2 separate regions of the Homo sapiens genome follow, and region 1 is linked to region 2. The links are contacts of gene promoters, found by promoter capture Hi-C in blood cells and fetal thymus (Javierre and others, 2016). All regions are on one chromosome and are shown on one strand. The core of a region is centred on a gene start or on the middle of the fragment in contact, and the rest is flanking DNA. Distances in the headings are between cores, read along the strand shown.

What was found. The method cuts DNA at HindIII sites, captures the fragments that hold promoters and counts their contacts. A CHiCAGO score of 5 or more calls a contact.
Region 1: a contact is called between a fragment that was not itself captured here and the fragment with the promoter of CYP26C1 in region 2, in 5 of 17 cell types (M1 macrophages, M0 macrophages, M2 macrophages and 2 more). The highest score is 9.0, in M1 macrophages.

What each region holds. Positions count from the first base shown.
Region 1 is chr10:93,290,248-93,295,554 of GRCh38, forward strand. No RefSeq gene overlaps it. Among named protein-coding and RNA genes, the nearest start is that of MYOF, 190 kb to the right of the region's middle. RefSeq lists an enhancer at 1-327. The HindIII fragment of the contact is 4,082 bases long and covers 1,175-5,256 here.
Region 2 is chr10:93,057,913-93,063,105 of GRCh38, forward strand. It overlaps CYP26C1 (cytochrome P450 family 26 subfamily C member 1), which reads left to right and starts at 2,886. Exons shown (of 6, transcript NM_183374.3): 1 at 2,886-3,555; 2 at 4,098-4,322; 3 at 4,808-5,083. The coding sequence starts at 3,352. EXOC6 (exocyst complex component 6) reads left to right here. Exons shown (of 22, transcript NM_019053.6): 22 at 311-1,578. The coding sequence ends at 443. RefSeq lists enhancers at 2,904-3,813, 4,767-4,886, 4,897-5,066. The HindIII fragment of the contact is 6,240 bases long and covers 284-5,193 here.

The DNA of each region.
Region 1 (5,307 bases), core at 1,966-4,465, 230 kb after region 2:
CAACCATTATTGAATTTATATGTACAGACATTTCTTTGCTACTTACCCTGGAGCACTTGACACAGAGTTGCTTGAATGTGAAGCAATTTATTTGCAGCTGGGGATGTAAAGGGTGGAGGAGAAATAGCCTCTCTCTTTGAGACTCTCTGGAATGGAAGGGAACACAAAGTGAATATCACATATGCCATATAGCCTCTATTTTAAGTTGGACTGCCCCCAACGTATCCTCTGTGTTGGATGAAGAAAACACAGGCAGTTTTCATTTGAGGCAGTACTAGACAGAATCAAAGCTGATTAAAGTAAAAAGATTGTGAAATGGAATGCAAGAATTAGAATAAATGTATAAATTAAAGCAAGGCTTTCAGAAAGCTTTAAACCTCCAGGCAAAACCTAAAGGTTTTTAGTCAATTTCCCTTTGTATTGGGCTATTTGGGTAAAAGTTCACCAAGGGTCATATGTCATGCCAGTATATAAAGCAATGTCACACAGAGTGACTGAACTCAGGGTAGCCATCTTTTCTCCTTGATTCAAGACCTGAGTATGGCGCACTCATCACTGGTCAGGCACAAGGCCAGATGCTTCAGGGACAGGGAAAGAAGAGGACAGAGTCTCTGTTCCTGTTGGGGGCTGGCAGGTTTCCCAGCTTTAAGTACCAGCATCACCGGTACCACCTGTACTGTACCAGTAACAACACCTATAAGGGCTAAAGACAAAATGGAGAGACAAGAGATACAGAGAGGAAAGCAGCAGAGGGAGGAGAGGGTGGGAGAGGAAGAGCAGAGTGAGGGGATGGATTCTAGAGGAGGTGACAGAGATGACTCAGACACCTTAGAGGAGGCCTGGACTCAGCTCAAACAGAAGTGTCCTCTTCGGGCCCTTCTAAAATGCCTGGCAGCAACCAATGTCCCATGACTGTCCCCAGCAGCCCGCGAAGTTACTGCCCTTTGTGACTGCAAGGAGGTCTGATTGCTGGACCTGCATGGTGTGTGTCCCCAGCACTGGCATGTTTGTTCTGAGGTCAGGAGTACTGCAGAGAAAGCAGTCTCACTAGTATTCATATTTTTCCATCATCATGCTGTCTGAATGTGCCAGCCTTCTGGACAGAGAAGCTTGGCTTGTGACCGGGTCGGGAGTGAGAAAAGGGCATGAATGATGGCCCCCTCAAGTGAGGGAAAGCTTCTGAAACAAGCATGCCTGCAGGAGCCTGAGCGAGTATGTGCATGTGGCACTGGCATGGACCCACTTCTGCGCAGAGGTGGCGTGGCTTCCACCCAGGTGTGACCTCTGGATGCCACCCCCACCTGCATGCTGGGCTCACAGAGATGTCCCCCGGCAGCAGCAAAGGGCCTGGAGGCCCGTCCTCCCTGAGAGCAGAGCTTTGATCTTTTCACCATCAGGATCATTATCAAACGTCTCAGGGAAAGGAAAAATATTTGGGAAAGAATTTAAAAGCTGTACTCTTTGAAATAGGTATGAATGCCAGCCATCTCAGCATAGTTCTTCAAAGGACTGCTTTTGTAGTATTCTCTGACTTTTATTAAAAGCTGTTATGGGAAACATTTCTGCCCTCTACAAATATACAAATAAGAACAACAAGGGTGGGCACGGTGGCTCACTCCTGTAATCCCAGAACTTTGGGAGGCCAAGGCAGGTGGATCACCTGAGGTCAGGAGTTCAAGACCAGCATGGTCAACATGGTGAAACCCCGTCTCTACTTAAAATACAAAAATTAGCTGGGCAGGGTGACGGGTGCCTGTAATCCCAGCCACTTGGGAGGCTGAAGCATGAGAATTGCTTGAGCCTGGGAGGGGGAGGTTGCAGTGAGCTGAGATCACACCATTGCGCTCCAGCCTGAGCGACAGAGTAAGACTCTGTCTCAAAAAAAAAAAAAAAATAAGAAGAACAGTGAATATTAATGGGAGCTTCACAAATGTAGGACCTGCGCTAAGATCCTGATGAGCCATTTCTGTCACTTTTGGTATAATAACTTTTTTTCTGAAGGCCTGTATGTTTTTACAATGAACCCTAAAATCTGAGACAGGTCTCAGTCAATTTAGGAAGTTTATTTTGCCAAAGTTAAGGATGCGTGCCCAATACACAGCCTCAGGAGTTCCTGACGACATGTGCCCAGGGTGGTCAGAGCACAGCTTGGTTTTATCCGTTTTAGGAGACATGAGACATGAATTAATATATGTTTCCATTCAGAAAGGCAGGACAACTCAAAGTGGGAAGGGCCAGATCATAGGTAGTTAAGAGATTGGCAAAATAAACTTTCTGTTTTTTTTTTTTTTGTTTTTTTTTTTTTTTTTTTTTTTTTTTTGTTGTTGTTGTTGTTTTTGGAGATGGAGTCTTGCTCTGTCGCCCAGGCTGGAGTGCAGTGGCATAATCTTGGCTCACTGCATGCTCCGCCTCCCGGGTTCACGCCATTCTCCTGCCTCAGCCTCCCGAGTAGCTGGGACTACAGGTGTCTGCCACTACGCCTGGCTAATTTTTTTGTATTTTTAGTAGAGATGGGGTTTCACCGTGTTAGCCAGGATGGTCTCGATCTCCTGACCTTGTGATCTGCCCGCCTCAGCCTCCCAAAGTGCTGGGATTATGGGTGTGAGCCACCGAGCCCGGCCACAAAATAAACTTTCTAAATAGACTGAGACCTGTCTCAGATATTTGGGGTTCACAAGACAAAGGTTGCATTCTTTTGAGTTTCTAATGAGACTTTTCAAAGGAGGCAACCAGATATGCATTTATCTCAGCAGAGGGATGACTTTGAGTTCTGTCTGTCCTTTGTCCACAGCAAATTTCCTTGTGACGGAGGTATGTAGCTTTTTTATCTTAGTAGATATCTTTTATTTATTTATTTTTTTGGATGGAGTCTCACTTTGTCTCCCAGGCTGGAGTGCAGTGGCGTGATCTTGGCTCACTGCAAACTTCACCTCCCAGGTTCAAGTGATTCTCCAGCCTCAGCCCCCTGAGTAGCAGATGCCCACCACCATATTTGGCTAATTTTTTGTATTTTTAGTAGAGATGGGGTTTTACCATGTTGGCCAGGCTGGTCTCGAACTCCTGGCCTTAACTGATCCACCCGCCTCGGCCTCCCAAAGTGCTGGGATTACAGGCATGAGCCACTGCGCCTGGCCTTTAATAAATATCTTTTTTAGGAATAGAATGGGTGGCAAGTTTGCCCTAAGCAGTTCTCAGCTTGACTTTTCCCTTTGGCTTAATGATTTTGAGGTCCCAAGATTTATCTTCCTTTCATATTACCAACCAGTTAAGAACAGCCAGAGGACAAATATTCCCCTCACGGATGTTCCAAGTCACTTTTTAAACCCAAATCAGAGCAGTACATTGACTCTTAGAACATTTGCTTTTCTTCTTATACCTTTATTTTAATCTTGTGGAAATTCTATTTTACTGCTTGATTCTACTTTTTGTCTTTTTTTGTGAGTGAACTCAAAGTGCCCTCTCCTCTTTTTAAAAGAAATATGAAGAAGTTTAATTTGAAAATTGATGAGGCTTCAAGACAGACTTGTAGATCTTAGCGTCCTGGATGGGGACTTGCTCAGCGTACTTGAAGCATATTGAGGATTCTTTAGTAGAATTCACATTTTCCAAGAGCAAAGAGTCCAAGTACATGCTCTTTCTAAAGGGCACTGGAGGACTTCTCTACTTCTCCCGACCCAGAGGGGAGACTACTGTCCCCACAGGAGGTCCTCAAAACAGACTTGTGGCAGGCCCCTTCTTCCCCATTGCGTTTGAGGGCCAGCAATCAAGGTGGAGAAAGTCACCCCATGCAGATGGAAAGAGTGGCTAAGGAATGGCCATTAATTCTGGCTGGAACCTTCTCAAGACTCTACTTGGGGCGGGGTATAAATTGGTACTACATTTCAGGAAGCAACTGGCAATGTATCTCAAGGGCATTAAATATGCTCGTGCCCTCTGACTCAGGAATTCCCCTTTGACTCAGGAATGAATAAGAAATTCATTTGCCCATTCATTGATGCTGCTCTATCTCATGCACAAGGTTGGGTGAACAAGACAAACATTGTCCCTGACCTTATACTGTTAACAATTTAATAGATCTAGAGGCCCCAAAATACAGGCAAAGATCTTTGTCCATGGATGTTTAAAGCAGCATTGTAAATAGCAAAGAATTGGAAACAATATATATTGTTACATATATCCTCAGTGATAGGGGATTAAATTAGAGTAGATCCATGTGATGGAATTTTAAATGACCATTATAAATTAGGTTTTGAAATTCATAAATTGTGGAAAATGTTTATGAAATACAATTTTTTTTTTTAAGATGGAATCTCGCTCTGTTGCCCAGGCTGAAGTGCAGTGGCGCAATCTCGGTTCACCACAACCTCTGCCTCCCGGGTTCAAGCGATTCTCCTGCCTCAGCCTCCCGAGTAGCTGGGATTACAGGCACGCGCCACCATGCCCAGCTGATTTTTGTATTTTTAGTAGAGACAGGGTTTCACTATGTTGGCCAGGCTGGTCTCGAACTCCTGACCTCGTGATCCGCCCACCTCGGCCTCCCAAAGTGCTGGGATTACAGGCGTCAGCCACTGTGCCCGGCCTATGAAATACAATTTTAAGAGAGGGAAGAAAAGCAAGATATAAAACTGGAGAGTTGGCTAGGCATGGTGGCTCATGCCGGTAATCCCAGCACTTTGGGAGACTGAGGCGGTTGGATCACTTGAGCCCAGGAGTTCGAGACCAGTCTGGGCAACAAGACAAAACTCCTTTTCTCCAAAACAAAAATAAAAACAAAAATTAGCCAGACATGGTGGTGCGTGCTTGTAGTCCCAGCTACGTGGGGGGCTGAAGTGGGAGGATCATCTGAACCTGGGGAGGTCAAAGCTGCACTGAGCCATGATTGTGTCACTGTACTCCAGCCTGGGCAACAGAGCAAGCTCCTGTCACAAAAAACAAACAAAAGCCTTGGAGAATCATGAAGGCAAGGCCAGGGAAGTTCTGGAGGTGGGATCCCAATTTTATGTCTTTAAAAACGGCAAGAGTAGAAGGAAACACCACAAAATAATGTTAACAGTAGTTATCTCATGATAGATTATGGATTTTTAATGTTCTTTTTTATGCTTTTTCCCAATAAAGTATCTGCAGTGAATATAAATGAATTTTAAAATTTTTAAAGAAAAAATATTTCTAGGAGTTATGTTCAGGGCTTCTATGCTGTGGATATAAGGGAAGAATTATCCCTTAGATTCCCCCAGCTGTAACATTCCTTCTAGGCCAAGCTTGTGTAGCCTGCGGCCCAGAGGCCACATGCAGCCCAGGACGGCTTTG
Region 2 (5,193 bases), core at 1,636-4,135:
ACAGGGTATGTATTTTAGCATACTTTGTGGAATAATATTAGAAAATAGTATGATAGTAGTAAACCTAGCATATTTTAGATGTACATACTAATGCAAAAATACCACTTAACATAGAATGTAAAATAAAGCTTCTAATTTTTTGCATGGTTACTATATCTGTATGTTTATTTAGTATCTACTTTCTTTGAACTATATTTTTCAAGCATAGGATTAGTGTGGGATAATTCAGAGCATGCCAAGATATTTTACTTGTGACAGCTTAGCTTTTAATTTTCTTTTACCAAGCTTCTTCATTCACATATGTTTCTAGGATGAAGGATACTAGCAAAAAGAACAATATATTTGCTCAGTTCAGGAAGAATGATCGAGACAAACAGAAGTTGATAGAGACAGTCGTGAAACAGCTGAGAAGTTTGGTGAATGGTATGTCCCAGCACATGTAGACCTCACATGGCTTGCACTCAGTGACACCAAATCCATGATTCAATGTTGATCTTGAGCAAGTATTGGTCATGATACAGTAATTTGTTTACAGAATCCAAAAATACAATAGAGAAGATACATGAGGGCTTAAACAAGAAATAGTAATAAATATCATTTGTATGGATTTTTAAATAATCGAATACTATTTTATATATGGAAAAAAATGACCATTTTTTCACTTTTAGGGGAAAATGCAAAAGTGTAATACATAAATTGTCACAAATTATACATGAAATTGATTACAAATACATTTGAAAAACATATGCCTCTACTCATAAGTATTTTTTTCTATTTAGACTTGAATGATAATCTGTTTTTTGATCAGTATATGGCTTTGGAATTCAATCATGTCTGATATGGTAGTATTTCACTACCATTTTCTGACTTTTAGCTTTTATTTTCACCTCAATGTGATTTAAGCAGACCAAAATTTCTAATTCTGCTAATTCTGAAGGGGAAATAGACAAATCTTAAAAGCTGCCTGAAATCAAACTTGATTTAACTCAGTAAGAATGTGAATTATTTGTTCTACTTGGGTGGTTTAATTTAATCGTTCTGAATATGAACAAAAGGTTTTGGATTTTCTAAAGATGCAGTGTTGTTTCTGTTCATCAGGGTTAATATTTCTAACTATATTGCTTGTAGGTGACCCCATTCTGGATTTGTTTGGTTTGGTTTGGTTCCAGTTAAAAGAGAGGACAGGAACTAAATGGGGCTAACCACTTCAGGTGCAGCTTGTGCGAGGGTAGATGGTTCCTGCACACAGAAGTTACCACAGGGGTCAGGTTACTTTCTTCAAATAGCAGATTTCAGTACTTTATCCTCATTGTGGAAACAAGCCAAACCAAATGAACTCTGGAAAACCTAAAACAAATGTACATTTTCCTTTGTGTATGTTTCCGTGGTCCAAATGGCAATATAAATCCAGTCTTTATTCTCCCTTTGTTGTATTTATGCTGAATCTTCCCTTTGCCTTTTCAGGATTTAGGCCTGTAAGAAACTATGCCTGATTCTGTAAAATAAGTGTAAAGAATTATATGTACATCTCTGGATTTTGTGATGAAATATTAAAAATATTGAGCAAGTTGTTGAAAATGCATTACTATTTTGTCTATTCAGAGCTTACTGATTTAAAACAAGTGCTTCCTGGAGAAAAGGCATATTATTTCCTAGTTACTGGAATGGGAGTGGCACCAAAACAGTATATATACATACACACACACACACACACACATATATATACATATGCGCACTTGTTCTCTCGATCATCTCTTAATCCAAAGTATTTAATGTTTTTAAAAATATTACATGAAAAGCATGGTAGTTCTTCAGGCACGGTGAAATCTGGAGGAGAGGAGCGGTGAACAGCTAGCTCTCTTTGAAGACTGGAATGGGGCTGCCCTTCGCGCCTTACCCAGCCTTCCAGCGTACTTGGGGTGTCTTCCCTGCTTTGGCTGAGACGTCCCGGGATTCAGAGAGATACTGCCTTTGCACTGCCTGGAGGAGACCACTGTGGGACCTCTTTACTCTTACCAATAATATAAACACCCTGCACCCCTCCACACACACCCCAGGTTGCACTGTAGGGACAAGAACGAGTGAGTCCTGAGGCATTTGGAACCCTTGAATGGGACGCACAAAGCCCAAAACGCAACAATGTAGATTGACAAGAGTCGTCGGGCAAACTCGGGGGAGGGAGGGAAGGATGTGCAGGGAAGGATGAATTCGGTCCTTGAGACCGGAAAGGTGCTCGTGGGTATCCGCTTCTGGAGGCTTAGGACGTCTTTATGAAGCCTAGGGCAGTAGTGGAACTGCCATCTTTGGAAGGATACCTGACGTGGTAGATCAGAGAGCCGGGAGAGGTGGGGAGCTGTCGGAGAATCTCGGCTGCGCTATCCCTCCTGGGCTTTTGCGATGCCAACGCAGGCGTCGACGACTGCAGTTTCCCTGAAATAGTCGGAGCAAAGGAGAGAAAAGCCCAGTTCTTTCACCTTGGAGTGGCGAGAGAAAGGCACCTAGAAGCTCGAGGGCGGGGACGGCAGAGGGAGCCAGCGGCCGGGGGTGGGCCAGGAGCACTGCGGGGCGCAAGCCCGGGTCAGTTCTGCGCGTTGGGTTCGCCCACTTTCTGAGCGCCTGCGAAGAGCGGGGAAGCTCTGGCGCGAACCCGCAGGCCCCGCCCGAGGACGCTCGCGGGGCGAGCCCCCAGCCCAGCTCGAGCCGCCCCGGCGCCTGCCACTCCCTACTCAGAGCCCCTCCGTGAGCGCGCCGCTGCCCACCGCCTCCAATCACCACTCTGCGTGGAGCGCTTTAAATATGCAAAGACACGTCACGTTGTGTGAACCGGGATCGGTCCGTAGGGGGGGAGCCAATATCTATATAAACGTGTCCAGCGTGGGCCAAGAAGGGTTAAACGACTGGAGGAGGGACAGGTGGGGCGGGGGTCTGCAGACCAGGTTGGCAACACTGGTGAGTTGCTCTTCTTTCGCCCTCCTTCCCTTCTTCTATCCAAAGGGTGCTGAGCCCGGGAGGAGGTGGGAGGTGCCCCGCGGAGCCGGGAGTGAGCGTTCCCGAGGCAGCAGGCACCTTCGAGAGGGACTGGCATTTGGGCCCAGGAGCCAGGAAAAAGTCCTGAGCGTGCCGGCCTCGAGGAAGGCACGTTCCCTAAGGGCGCACGGTCACTGCAGTCTTTCACCGTCCGTCTGTTTTTAGAACAGAGTTCTGGCCTGAGCTTATAAATCTCGGGCTTTGCCCCCAAACCCCAGGCCTTTTGCGGACGGAACAGGTGAGCACTGCGCACTGCTCGCGCCCCGGTTCTTGCGTCCCCTGCTCTCCCTGCGCTCTGAGCGGCCTGGCCCCCGCGGGCTCATCATGTTCCCTTGGGGGCTGAGCTGCCTGTCAGTGCTGGGGGCGGCGGGCACTGCTCTCCTGTGCGCGGGCCTGCTGCTCAGCCTGGCCCAGCACCTCTGGACCCTCCGCTGGATGCTGAGCCGGGACCGGGCCTCCACCCTGCCTCTGCCCAAGGGCTCCATGGGGTGGCCCTTCTTCGGCGAAACGCTGCACTGGTTAGTTCAGGTGAGCAGTCCTTCGACCCCGAGCGCTAATACGGTCCCTTCTTCCCCCGGCTCCCACTGGACCCTCCTCAGTCTCAATGCCCATGGGATTTGTAGCCAGTCCCTGCCCATCGCCCACGACCCCGGGAAGCGCGCACAACTCTCGCCTTTACCTAGATACTCCGTTCCCTCGAAGGGACCTCAAGTCACTGGAATTCCCCCCAGAGCAACTCCCAGACACAACGCAGGGGGTAAACATAAGGGGTTTTAGGAAGGGGTCTGAGGAGCACGTCCTGCAAGGGTAGAAAAGGAGCCTGGAGCTTGGCCCAGCTGTGAGCCCTTGGGCCCTCACTTCTTCACTCTGAGTCTGTTTCCTCATCTCACCAATAGGAACAGGAGCATGTACATTCCCGTAGAGTAGATACCAGGCCCACTGGGGATCTTGTTTTGTAAACGCGCCAGCCAGGGACAGGAAGTTGTGATCAAAAGGCAGCTGGAAGGTCTGGGTCAGATCCCAGCCCAGGCCCAGAAGTTCCAGCTCTCCACCCTCCGCCTCGCCCGCAGGGCTCGCGCTTCCACAGTTCTCGCCGAGAGCGCTATGGGACAGTGTTCAAGACGCACCTGCTGGGCAGGCCAGTGATCCGCGTGAGCGGCGCGGAGAACGTGCGCACCATCCTGCTGGGCGAGCACCGCCTGGTGCGCAGCCAGTGGCCGCAGAGTGCGCACATCCTGCTGGGCTCGCACACACTGCTAGGTGCGGTCGGCGAGCCGCACCGGCGGCGGCGCAAGGTGAGTGGAAACGGGAATGGACCGTAGATACGTCGGATCCGCGGTCCCCGGCATCTGCCATGGGCCAGGCCGGGGCCCCGGTGTTGGATACACTGTGAACCCGACCAAGGTCCCTGGTAACTAGCGGGTGGCCTTGGGCGGGTCCGTTACCTTCAGCTTCGGTTTATAAAGTTAGGACTGCGCTAAAAGATTCTTTCATCTCCCATCTTCCGTGGCTGTGATAGCAGAAGCGCTGGAGACTCAGACCTAGAAAGGGGCCAGGGAAGACTTCTTAGAGGAGATGGCAGCTGGAGCCTGGATGGTTGGGAGGGACTGTGTGCATCAGAGCAGAACTGGGGGAAATGGCGAAAGCAAAAGCCAGGAAGTTTAGGTCTGGGCCGCTTGGAAGAGGGAGAAAGGACCGGAACTGGCCTTCTGGCTACTCCGGAATCGCCAAGCAGATGAGGCCAGACCGCCGCCAGCGCTGATCACGCGCGCTCCCACAGGTCCTGGCGCGCGTGTTCAGCCGCGCCGCGCTGGAGCGCTACGTGCCGCGCCTGCAGGGGGCGCTGCGGCATGAGGTGCGCTCCTGGTGCGCGGCGGGCGGGCCGGTCTCAGTCTACGACGCCTCCAAAGCGCTCACCTTCCGCATGGCCGCGCGCATCCTGCTGGGGTTGCGGCTGGACGAGGCGCAGTGCGCCACGCTGGCCCGGACCTTCGAGCAGCTCGTGGAGAACCTCTTCTCACTGCCTCTGGACGTTCCCTTCAGTGGCCTACGCAAGGTACGGCCGCCCCGGCTCCAGACCTTCCTCCGAGGCTCCGCGGCGCGGGCGGGCCTCCCAGACCCAGACGGGACGCCCTCGGCGCACCCCGCGCGTCCGTCACCTCTGCT